Linked DNA regions of Homo sapiens: region 1 is linked to region 2. Evidence: promoter capture Hi-C in human tissues and cell types (Jung and others, 2019). All regions are on one chromosome and are shown on one strand. Each heading gives the region's core, a stretch centred on a gene start or on the middle of the fragment in contact. The rest is flanking DNA. Distances are from core to core; before and after follow the strand shown. Region 1 has its middle 57 kb from the start of TMEM163. Region 2 holds the start of TMEM163 (transmembrane protein 163).

Evidence for each region. The method cuts DNA at HindIII sites, captures the fragments that hold promoters and counts their contacts. A contact is called where the count stands out against the background at its distance.
Region 1: a contact is called between a fragment that was not itself captured here and the fragment with the promoter of TMEM163 in region 2, in 1 of the 25 tissues and cell types used here (IMR-90 fibroblasts).

What each region holds. Positions count from the first base shown.
Region 1 is chr2:134,773,658-134,778,515 of GRCh38, reverse strand. No RefSeq gene overlaps it. Among named protein-coding and RNA genes, the nearest start is that of TMEM163, 57 kb to the right of the region's middle. The HindIII fragment of the contact is 3,113 bases long and covers 1,558-4,670 here.
Region 2 is chr2:134,717,728-134,722,378 of GRCh38, reverse strand. TMEM163 (transmembrane protein 163) reads left to right here and starts at 3,379. Exons shown (of 8, transcript NM_030923.5): 1 at 3,379-3,645. The coding sequence starts at 3,444. It overlaps LOC105373629 (a long non-coding RNA gene), which reads right to left and starts at 4,267. Exons shown (of 2, transcript XR_923354.4): 1 at 3,812-4,267. RefSeq lists an enhancer at 154-1,353 and a silencer at 3,056-3,295. The HindIII fragment of the contact is 12,733 bases long and covers 1-4,651 here.

The sequences.
Region 1 (4,858 bases), core at 1,865-4,364, 56 kb before region 2:
GACAAATAGGTCCTGGCTGGAATTTTGGATGTCACCACAAAATATGAAGGTCCCTGCTACATCCTTCAGTCATAAGATCTTACGCTGTGGGGCCTCCTCTTTTTGGTGCCCAGGCTTTCTCTGGTCCACCAATTTTCTTAGTATTTCCACATCCCCTCCTGGAGCCCTGCATGCACCATGTAGACTGTGGTCCACTGGGACCACTAACTCCACTTGAATGAAGCTGCTCCACCACTTCCCTACAGCATCATTGCCTAGTGTGGGACTTCCTTTCCTCCAGCTTCCTCATGCATAGAACCCCCAGTGTTCTCAGGTTTCTTCAAACGTAAGAGTGGGCTCATTACACGTCTTCTGGAAGTTTCCACCCCCCAGGACAAGCCAAGGCATTTGCATTTGATCTTTTGCCCCCTTTCCTCTTCCCTTTTCAAATGTTCCCCCTTTATCCAAGTTCTTTCCTTCTCTATGATCGAAGCTTTTTTTCTTTTTATTTAAACAGAAGGTTTCAGAATTTAGAAAACACCCTTGTCATTCAACAAAGCCCAGCTTTCAAGATTATTGTCTTCACCATGGAATTCAAATATACTTGAAACTTAAAGCTGAGCTATGATTTCTTTGATCTCAGTGGTGTCTGCCTTCTCTCTGAAGCAAAGAAGGCCGCTGCTTCAACAGGTGGGAAGTTGCTCAGCAACATGATTTACTGGTAATGATAAATAGCATTCCTTGATTCAAGTACCAGTACTAGAGAACAATGAGCCTTCAACTTAAAAGTCTTAATTATATCGGCCGGGTGCAGTGGCTTATACCTGTAATCCCAGCACTCTGGGAGGCCGAGGCAGGTGGATCAAGAGGTCAGGAGTTTGAGACCAGCCTGGCCAATATGGTGAAACCTCATCTCTACCAAAAGATACAAAAGTTAGCCAGGCGTGGTGGCGTGTACCTGTAGTCCCAGCTACTCAGGAGGCTGAGGGAGGAGAATTGCTTGAACCCGGAAGGTGGAGGTTGTGGTGAGCAGAGATCGCGCCACCGCACTCCAGCCTGGGGGTGACAGAGTGAGACTCCGTCTCAAAAAAAAAAAACACCTTAATTATAGACTACTTATGGGAGTAGAATAATATTAGGGGTAAATATAAGTGAATGGGGTCTTTTTAAAAATCGCACAGTAGACCGCTGCCATGGCCTTGCCTCCCATCTTTCTTTTCTACTGCAGTCTGTCCTCGATGCCCTTTAACAAAATATTTTTGTAATAAGTTCCTTCTGTGTTTAAAATCTTTTGAATTCCTATCACCTTCAGTATTAAGTTCAATATTCTCTGTGATCTGGGCACTGCGTGGAGCTTCAGCTTTCTCTGATGCTACCCCAACCACTCTATCCTGCACCCTCCCCACCCAGTGCATCCTATGCCCCACCTGCCAAAGAGCTTAATTCCCTGCAGACTCCCCGGGGACCCCACAGTCACAACAGCAATCCCTCACACATGCTGCCATCCCACTTGAATGCCTTTCATTCTGCTCCTCCACCCTGGCCACTTGGCTAATCCTGCAAGACTCAGATCAAGTGATCACACCCTGGAAGATCGCCCCTCAAGCCTTGATGTATTGTGATGTGTCTGATCCAAGCAGCCTGATGACCCTTTATCCTAGTATTTAGCAAGCTGTGTTTTAATTGTCTATCTCTAAAGTATTTTGTGCAGTCCACATATCTTAAATACCATTATTTCACCAACGAGAATGCATATCTAACCATGAATCACATTAATCAACAAGTCGCCAATTTCATCATTCAACAGCAATTTCTGACATTTACTGTCCTAATTGGCAAAGCATTGATGGAAATGCGATCAGAAGCATGTGTTGTGGCCTTTCTGATGTAAAGCCAACTGATCACCCCTAGAACACATATGTTTGATTAAGACAACTGACATGCTCAGAGATGACATTTGAACCATCTAGCACATATGTCTAGCACACCTGGTCTATGATGAAATGTTTAAAGCAATTTATAGACATAGGGACATGCTCTTCGAGATGTCAAGAACATCTGTTCCGAAAGCTCTCTCCTGCTGTTGCCAAAGTCCCTACTTCCGGAATGGACTTCTAGAACAGCTTTGGGCTAAATATGAACATAGGTCTTCTTGACCTCTGTGACACACTTCGTTACCTGGCCTTGAAGCAATATTGCAATAAAGTGACCACCAGCCCTTATCGTACCTTTGTGCAGATTAGAAAAATGCCCCTTCCTCCAGGTGGATGCAGCCAGTGCCAGGCATTTCAATTAGCAGGGAACGAGCTGGATTTGCATGCCTACTCGCCCCCTTGGCCAGGTGGCTTTGTGTGGAGTGGAGAAAAGTCCCTGGCTGTCCATGTATAGATTCCCATAAAAACCCTCAGAAAAAGAACTCCTTTAACTTTTTCCTTCAGCTCCTTGTCTTTTGCAAGCAATCCTCCAAGTGCATCCTCCCCTTCACAGCACACACGTACATACACCCTAGTGAAATGTGAAAAGGCAACCACTCATCCCCACAGGAACAAACAATCATCCAGGCAAATGCTAGTCTCAGTTCGTAGACAGCCAAGAAAGATTGTGCTTCCTCTCTCTTGCTGTGCCCCTCATTTCCCCTGCTCCCTTGAAAAACAAAGTAGAAGCTTCAGAGAAAAACAATCTAGTCTTGTGACTATGTATATAATTAAAATACAGCATTAAAAATCGACTTCAAGTCGATGGGACCATGTATCACTTAGGATGCTTTTGGTGGGAACGAACAGAAAACCCATCTCAAAATGGCTACAACTATAGGGGAATGTATTATGTCACTGTATAGGAGAATGTATTATTTCACTCTATAGGGGAATGTATTGTCTCACTCAGCAAGAAGTCCTGAGGTAGAGCAGCTGCAGGGCCAATTAGTCCAGCAGCTCAAACAACATTCTCTAAAGCCCAGGTTCTTTTCACCTTTTCCCTTTGTTATCTTCACATATCAGCTTAGCTCACTCTCAGTTACGAAGTGGTTGCCCTTGTTCCTGGCTTCACATACAGACATGGGCGTGTCCAGCAGAATAATAGGAGCTTTTTGTTTAATGTGCTTTTTGGTTCCCCACTCCCCAGGGAACTAAAGATTTCCCTTCTAGTTCTTAGCCAGAACTCTGTTCCATGCCCACACCCAAATGAATCACCTCCAGGGAAATGGGATTGCCAGGCCTGGTTTAGGCACTGCCACCATTCACCCCTGGAGCTGGGATGAGGAAGGAGGGTTTTTGTCGGGGTGCTCAAGGAAGTGAGTCAAGTTCAGGGCGGCTGGAGGGAGCATACATCCCTCTGGATGCCCTGGCCTGTCATGCTGTGGTGAGGAGTTGGCCTTTATCCTGCCTGTCACATGGAGGCATTTAGTATCTGTTTGTAGAAATAATCTTGAAACTACAATCTTTAAGTAAAAATTGTCTTCCATTCACACACTGCTCTCCGCTGTGTCTCTTCTGAAGAAGCCTAAGTGGAAAAGGATAAGATCACTTATCTTGTGCTTTCGCGTTTCCTGTGGGGAGGACTCCCCCTTCGAAGTGTCAGGAGATTATCTGATGAAGCTGTTTATAAAAGCAGGGCTCAGGCACTCCTCTGGGACCCACATGCACGTTCTTCCACAGGCCACACCTGGGCCCAGCAATGGTTCTAATCCAAGAGGGCCTCATCGCATGGGGCTGGGACATCTGTGCCATCCCCAGGCCCCAGCAGGCCTTCCTCCTCATTAAATGTTTCTGTTGAGGCAGTTTTGGGAAGCATCTACCTTTTTCCCCAAAGAGAGTTACTCACATTTTCCCGAATTAAACTTCTCACCCCAGGTAATTTTTATTTTGAACCCTCTTTAGGCCCTGAATTGTGACTTTTAGTCTCTGAACTTCATATCAGGTTCTATTTTAGTAAGCACTGCAAATGTCAAGGTAATGACATGTGATTCCTTTTTGGGAACACTGTGGAAGATGCTAATGGAGAAGTGTGTCACCAGATGACCTCCTGAGGTCCCCAGAAGAAACATATATAGAGAGGGAATCCACTTCCACCGGACTGGCCTCTGTGAATAGGGAAGGGAAGTCATGTTTGCTGTGACTGTACTCTAGGCCAGGGGCTTTGCAGCCATTTAGTCTGCCTAAGAGACCTGACGTGGGCATTACCATTTCCATTGTTCAGACATGGAAACTGAGTCTGAAAGAAGTTAAAGAACTTGCTCAAGGGGGAATTTGAGCCCAAATGTGCTGCCTCTAAAATCCGTGCTTTTATCAATGCATCATGCTGGGCTCTGGCAGGAGTGAGTAAGGCTGAGTGTGCTGAATTCATTGTGATAAGAGGCGCTGACCTCCATGGAAAGGAAAACCCTGAGCCTGGGGCCCCTGGGGTCATGTCACACTTTCACTTTGTCCTGGCCAGAGCATGTGGGATGATGAGGCAGGAAAGTGGGAAAGGTGTGTGGCTGGGGAGGGTCGCAGCAGATCTTGCCCCACACCCCTCCTCCATTTGTGAATCAGTATTTAGAGCAGTTGCTCCCTGGGGACTTTCACTTTGGGCCTCACATTAAGGGGGAAAAAAAAGAGCAGGCTAAAGACAGGCAGGGCATGAGTTCTGAGCCTCGTGCCAGGTCAGAAACAGAAAGGTGACAGCTTCCCTCTGAATGAGATGTTCTGGGAGCCAAGAAGACAAAATGAATTCCTGAGATTTATTTTTTTCCCCATTTTGTCTGAAACAGTTTTCTGTTTCCACTGTGAAACCACTCCTGAATAACCTTCCCTGAACCTCACAGTTTGGATAAGGAAACAAATTTCCTGCTGCCACGGCAACAGCCTCTCACTTACCCAACTGCGGAGTGGGGGGAAGC
Region 2 (4,651 bases), core at 2,130-4,629:
AGAAACTTTTAATCTGAGGAATGCAAGCCCCTTTACATTATCAGCCCCAGAGACTTACTGGAATGAAACAGCAGCAAGTGACAACCATTTGAGTGAAATAATGATCTCTAGAAGCCACTGACTATGTGGGCTCTAGACTAATTTATGCCAAATAGCCATAAAATGGCCATACACTGGACACCATAACTCCTACCCGACAGTTCAACAATCTATAGCCAAGTTATCTCTGCAAACCAATGAGGATTCCTGTCACACAACTTTATATCGGCCCTCTCTTTGTTCCCTTTGCCTTTAAAAACCTGCTTATAACAAAGGCTAATGGAGCACTCCTCAAGGCAACTTAGAAACGTCCTGGGTAGCTGTCCTCATTTGGGCTCAAGCAAATTCTTTCAATTATATTTTGTGCCTCAGCCTCTTCCTTTTAGGTTGACAGCCTCTATCCCAGACCAACTAAATTAGAATCAGCATTTTAAGAAGAATTGCGGATGTTCATTGCCACGCTCACCTTTGAGATGTGCTGGACTTACAGAACCAACTGAGGAACCAGAGGAAAGAATAATGATACCAGTTCCTTTGGTGAGAATCTGCTGCAGACCGTGTGTGTGTGTATGTGAAGGGCACAGAGCTAGATGGTCCATATTGTGGAGAGTAATCATAAAGGGTGGTTGCAGAATAATTGACATCAGAATGTGTGTTGGAGGCCGGGGGGCAAGAGGGGTTTAAAGGAAGGTTCCCAGCCAGATCCCAGATCTATTGAACCAGAATCTCAGAGAGCCAGGGAGGAATAATTTTTTTTTTTTGAGATGGAGTCTCGCTCTGTCGCCCAGGCTGGAGTGCAGTGGCATGATCTCAGCTCACTGCAAGCTCCGCCTCCTGGGTTCATGCCATTCTCCTGCCTCAGCCTCCTGAGTAGCCGGGACTACAGGCACCTGCCACCACGCCCGGCTAATTTTCTGTATTTTTAGTAGAGACGGGGTTTCACCATGTTAGCCAGGATGGTCTCGATCTCCTGACCTTGTGATCTGCCCACCTTGGCCTCCCAAAGTGCTGGGATTACAAGCGTGAGCCACCACGCCCAGCCAATTTTTTTTAAGCCCCCAGATGACTCTTAGAATGGGGAAGTGCCTTACAAAATACCCATGCCAAGGTCCCAGCCAAGAACGATCACGTTAAATATGATATCAGAATCTCTAGCAGTCGAAGCTTCGGTATTTTTGTTCTTAGACTCCCCAGGTGATACTTTGAGAGCCATTGACAGGGGGATTAAATGGGATAGACTGGAGGAAAAAAGTGGAGGAGATGACTCTGCAAATATATCTGAAGGATGTTCTACCTTAGAGGATAGAACCAGGATTAATGGGTAGAGATTTTCATTGTCTTTATCCAAGTAATCATAGCATTTTTCTTTTTCTTTGCAGCAGGAAGGGATCTTTGAAATGACGTAGTTCAACTCTTTCAATTTGTAGTTGAAGAAATTAGTGGTCAACAAGGTAAAGTAAGTTGGTCAAGGTCAACTCAGATCTTCTCATTCCAATCCAGCAACAACAATAATAACAGCAGCAACAAAATAAAGTAAGACCCCTCTCCCCATTTCTGGTGATATTTCCAGTGCACCACAAAGGCATTTAAATCCTACTCTCATTTCAATCACAAGCAAAGCAGACAAGAAAAAGGAAAAGGGTGACTCTTCAAGAAACGAGGAGGACTCCTTTAAATGAGGAATTGACATTTTGGAGTACCCGGATTAAATTCAGAGACTGAATCAATCTAAAGACGAAAGCCGGACTCTAGAGCTTGGATGTTGATACCATTGAAACGGTAGGGGCAGAAAAGGTGTGATACTTTCCTCCCCATCATAAGGGGCACGGCAAACATGCTTATAACAAAAGATAGGCTAATAAGAGAAAAGCGTAACAAATTTATTGAATCAAAGTTTTATGTGATACAGGAGCCTTCAGAAATGAAGATGCAAAGACTCAGGGAAAACTGCCTGTTTTTATGCTTAGATTCAGTGAAGAATGGACAGCCTTATAGAAATGTGATTGGACAAAGGGTGTGATCTAATGGTAATAGACTGAGGGTTGAACCCAGCGAGGCCTGTTCAGATTCTTCTTGGCCTCTCTGTGCAGCATGTATAGAGCAGGACCTCTTCTGGAATGAGGGTCTCAGGATCTACTATCAGACAAGGTAGGTCTGAGTATTTCTTCATGGCCAGCTCCTACACAGAAAGGCAGAGGACCAGGGAGGTTGGAGTACTATTTCTAGGTTGTATGACCACCGTAGGGAAGAGGAATTCTGGTTTCTGTGAACTGCTTAGTGGGGAGAAAGTCGGGGGGGAGACAGACTTTGTTTCTAAGGCGGCTTCAGAGGCCTGTTTAGTTTTTTAGTTCAAACTTAGCATACCAAAGTGCCATACGTTGGGGTATACTTTTCTGAGCCTCAACAAATCCAAGCTGAATTTATTAAACAGCAGGTCCTCTTTTGCTCCTCTCTGGGCATCAAGAGAGCTGGCGTGTGCCCTGCGGTGGACTCTCACTGGTGAGATCAGCCCCACCGCACAAAATGAATTAAGAGCTGCAGGGGTCAGAGTAGGGGAGACTTCTCGTAGAAGGGAGGCTTCCATGGATTTCTGAAGATCACACAAGACTTAGATGAGCAGGGGAGCGAACTGTATGGGACAAAGGCCCAGGAAGAGTCGAAATGGGGAAGCCTCGGAGTTCAAGCATCTTCTATAGCGCCCGCTGTCCTAAAGATACCCCATCCCTGGCTAAATGGGTGCTCCAGGGAGAAACTGGGAGGGGAGTTAAAGCTCCGAGAAGGACGGAGAGCGACGGGCTTGGGGACAGATGAACCCTTTTTCCCTGGATGAGCAGTGAGAATGGAGGCCCAGGCGAAGACCCTGTACAGCCTCTGAAGCCTGTGCAGCTCCAGAAGAGAAAGATGCCAAATTAGGGGCGCTGTCTGCTACCCACGCGCGGCCGCGGGCTTCGCGGACCCCAGAGGAATCCAGTGGGAGGGGTCCCCTCTGGGCACCATCCCGCGGCGCAGGTGGGGCGGGTCCCCGCTACGCCCTAGCCAAGCTCTGCCAGGGCCGCCTGTGGGTCCTCACGCTGGTTCCTCCCTCTCGTCCGCCTCGGTGCGCCGGCTCCCGCGCCCGGGCCTTGGGGCGGGTCCCTGCCGCCCGCACCTGCCCCCAGGGGCGGAGCGCGGCGGCAACAACGCGGCCCCAGCCTCCGCCACCGGCCGCGGAGCCGAGCGGCTCTCCGCTCGTCCCCGCCCCCGCCCGTGCACCTCCACTCCGCGGCGCCCGCCCGCCCTCCCTCCCTGTCCACGCGGCCAGTCCGTCCGCTCCTGCCCCCGCCAGAGCCGCGGCGCCTCGCACTTCTGACTCGAGTCCCCGCCGCGCTTGTCGTCGCCGCCGCCGGGATCCGCAGCCCCGCGCCATGGAGCCGGCCGCGGGCATCCAGCGCCGCAGCTCCCAGGGGCCCACCGTCCCGCCGCCGCCCCGGGGCCACGCGCCACCGGCTGCCGCCCCCGGCCCGGCCCCGCTGAGCTCCCCGGTGCGCGAGCCGCCCCAGCTGGAGGAGGAGCGGCAGGTGCGGATCAGCGAGAGCGGCCAGTTCAGCGACGGGCTGGAGGACCGAGGTGAGCGCGAGCTGCCCGACCCGGCCGGCGACCGGGGTGGCTGCTCGGGGCCCGCCTCTCCCCACTCGCGGGCCGCGCTGGGCGAGGCGCGGGGCTCGGAGCGCGCGGGGGCGCGGAGCCCCGACTTCCCGGCGAGAACGCCGCTAGCCGAGAGCGGCAGCCCCACCTTCTGCGGCCGGCACCGCCTCGGCTGCGGTTCCTTCCCTCGAAGCCCAGACCCCAGCTGCCTTCAGGCCGACCCCGCCTGGACTCGCGCCCTCCTCTCCGCCAGCTCCAGGCCCTCCGGCGCCCACGGGAAAAGTTTGCGGGAGGCATTTTTTGCGTTCGGAGTCGAGCGCTTCTGGGCCACTCCGGGCCCTACTCAGCTCGGAGGGACCCAGGCTCGTTGCATCCTCCTTTCCGTAGTCCCCTGCGGCTCCGCCGGCTGCCTGGGAGAACTTCCCTCTGCGGGTGTAGCCGCGAGATGTCCCTCGGCGGCCGCCCGGCTGCCCGCCCCGGCGAAGGGCGCAAGGAGGGGAGCGAGCCGGGACTCGGGCGGCCTCTGGTCTCGGGCAGTCCCCGATTCTAATCGCGGACGCGGGTCACAGTGGGTCCCTGCCCCGTCGTCTCATGATGGGGCAGAGGAATGGGACATTTGGATTTGGGCCACCAACCTCATCTGGATGGATGCCACTGAAACCTGATGTTTCCGGAGGGCGCGTCTGCAGACCCTTCAGAGCTCCCCTCCACTGACACTGGCCTGGAGGTCAGCACACTTGCCTCTGCTGGGAGACCACACTCTGCCTCCCACCGACTGCCGATGCCCCCTTGAGTCGCCAGTGTAGGACGGGAGAGACTCCCTGCTCGTTCCCGCGTCTCTCTTCTCCATCCCTTCCGCGTTTCCTTTGGGCTTGGATTCTTTGCAGAGGGAGCCCTGTTCTTGGCCGCGTCTGCACCTTTTCTACTTCTTGCTGAATCCGAATCCAAATTGTCCCCCTCAGAACGAATCTGTGGTTCTGCTAAAACC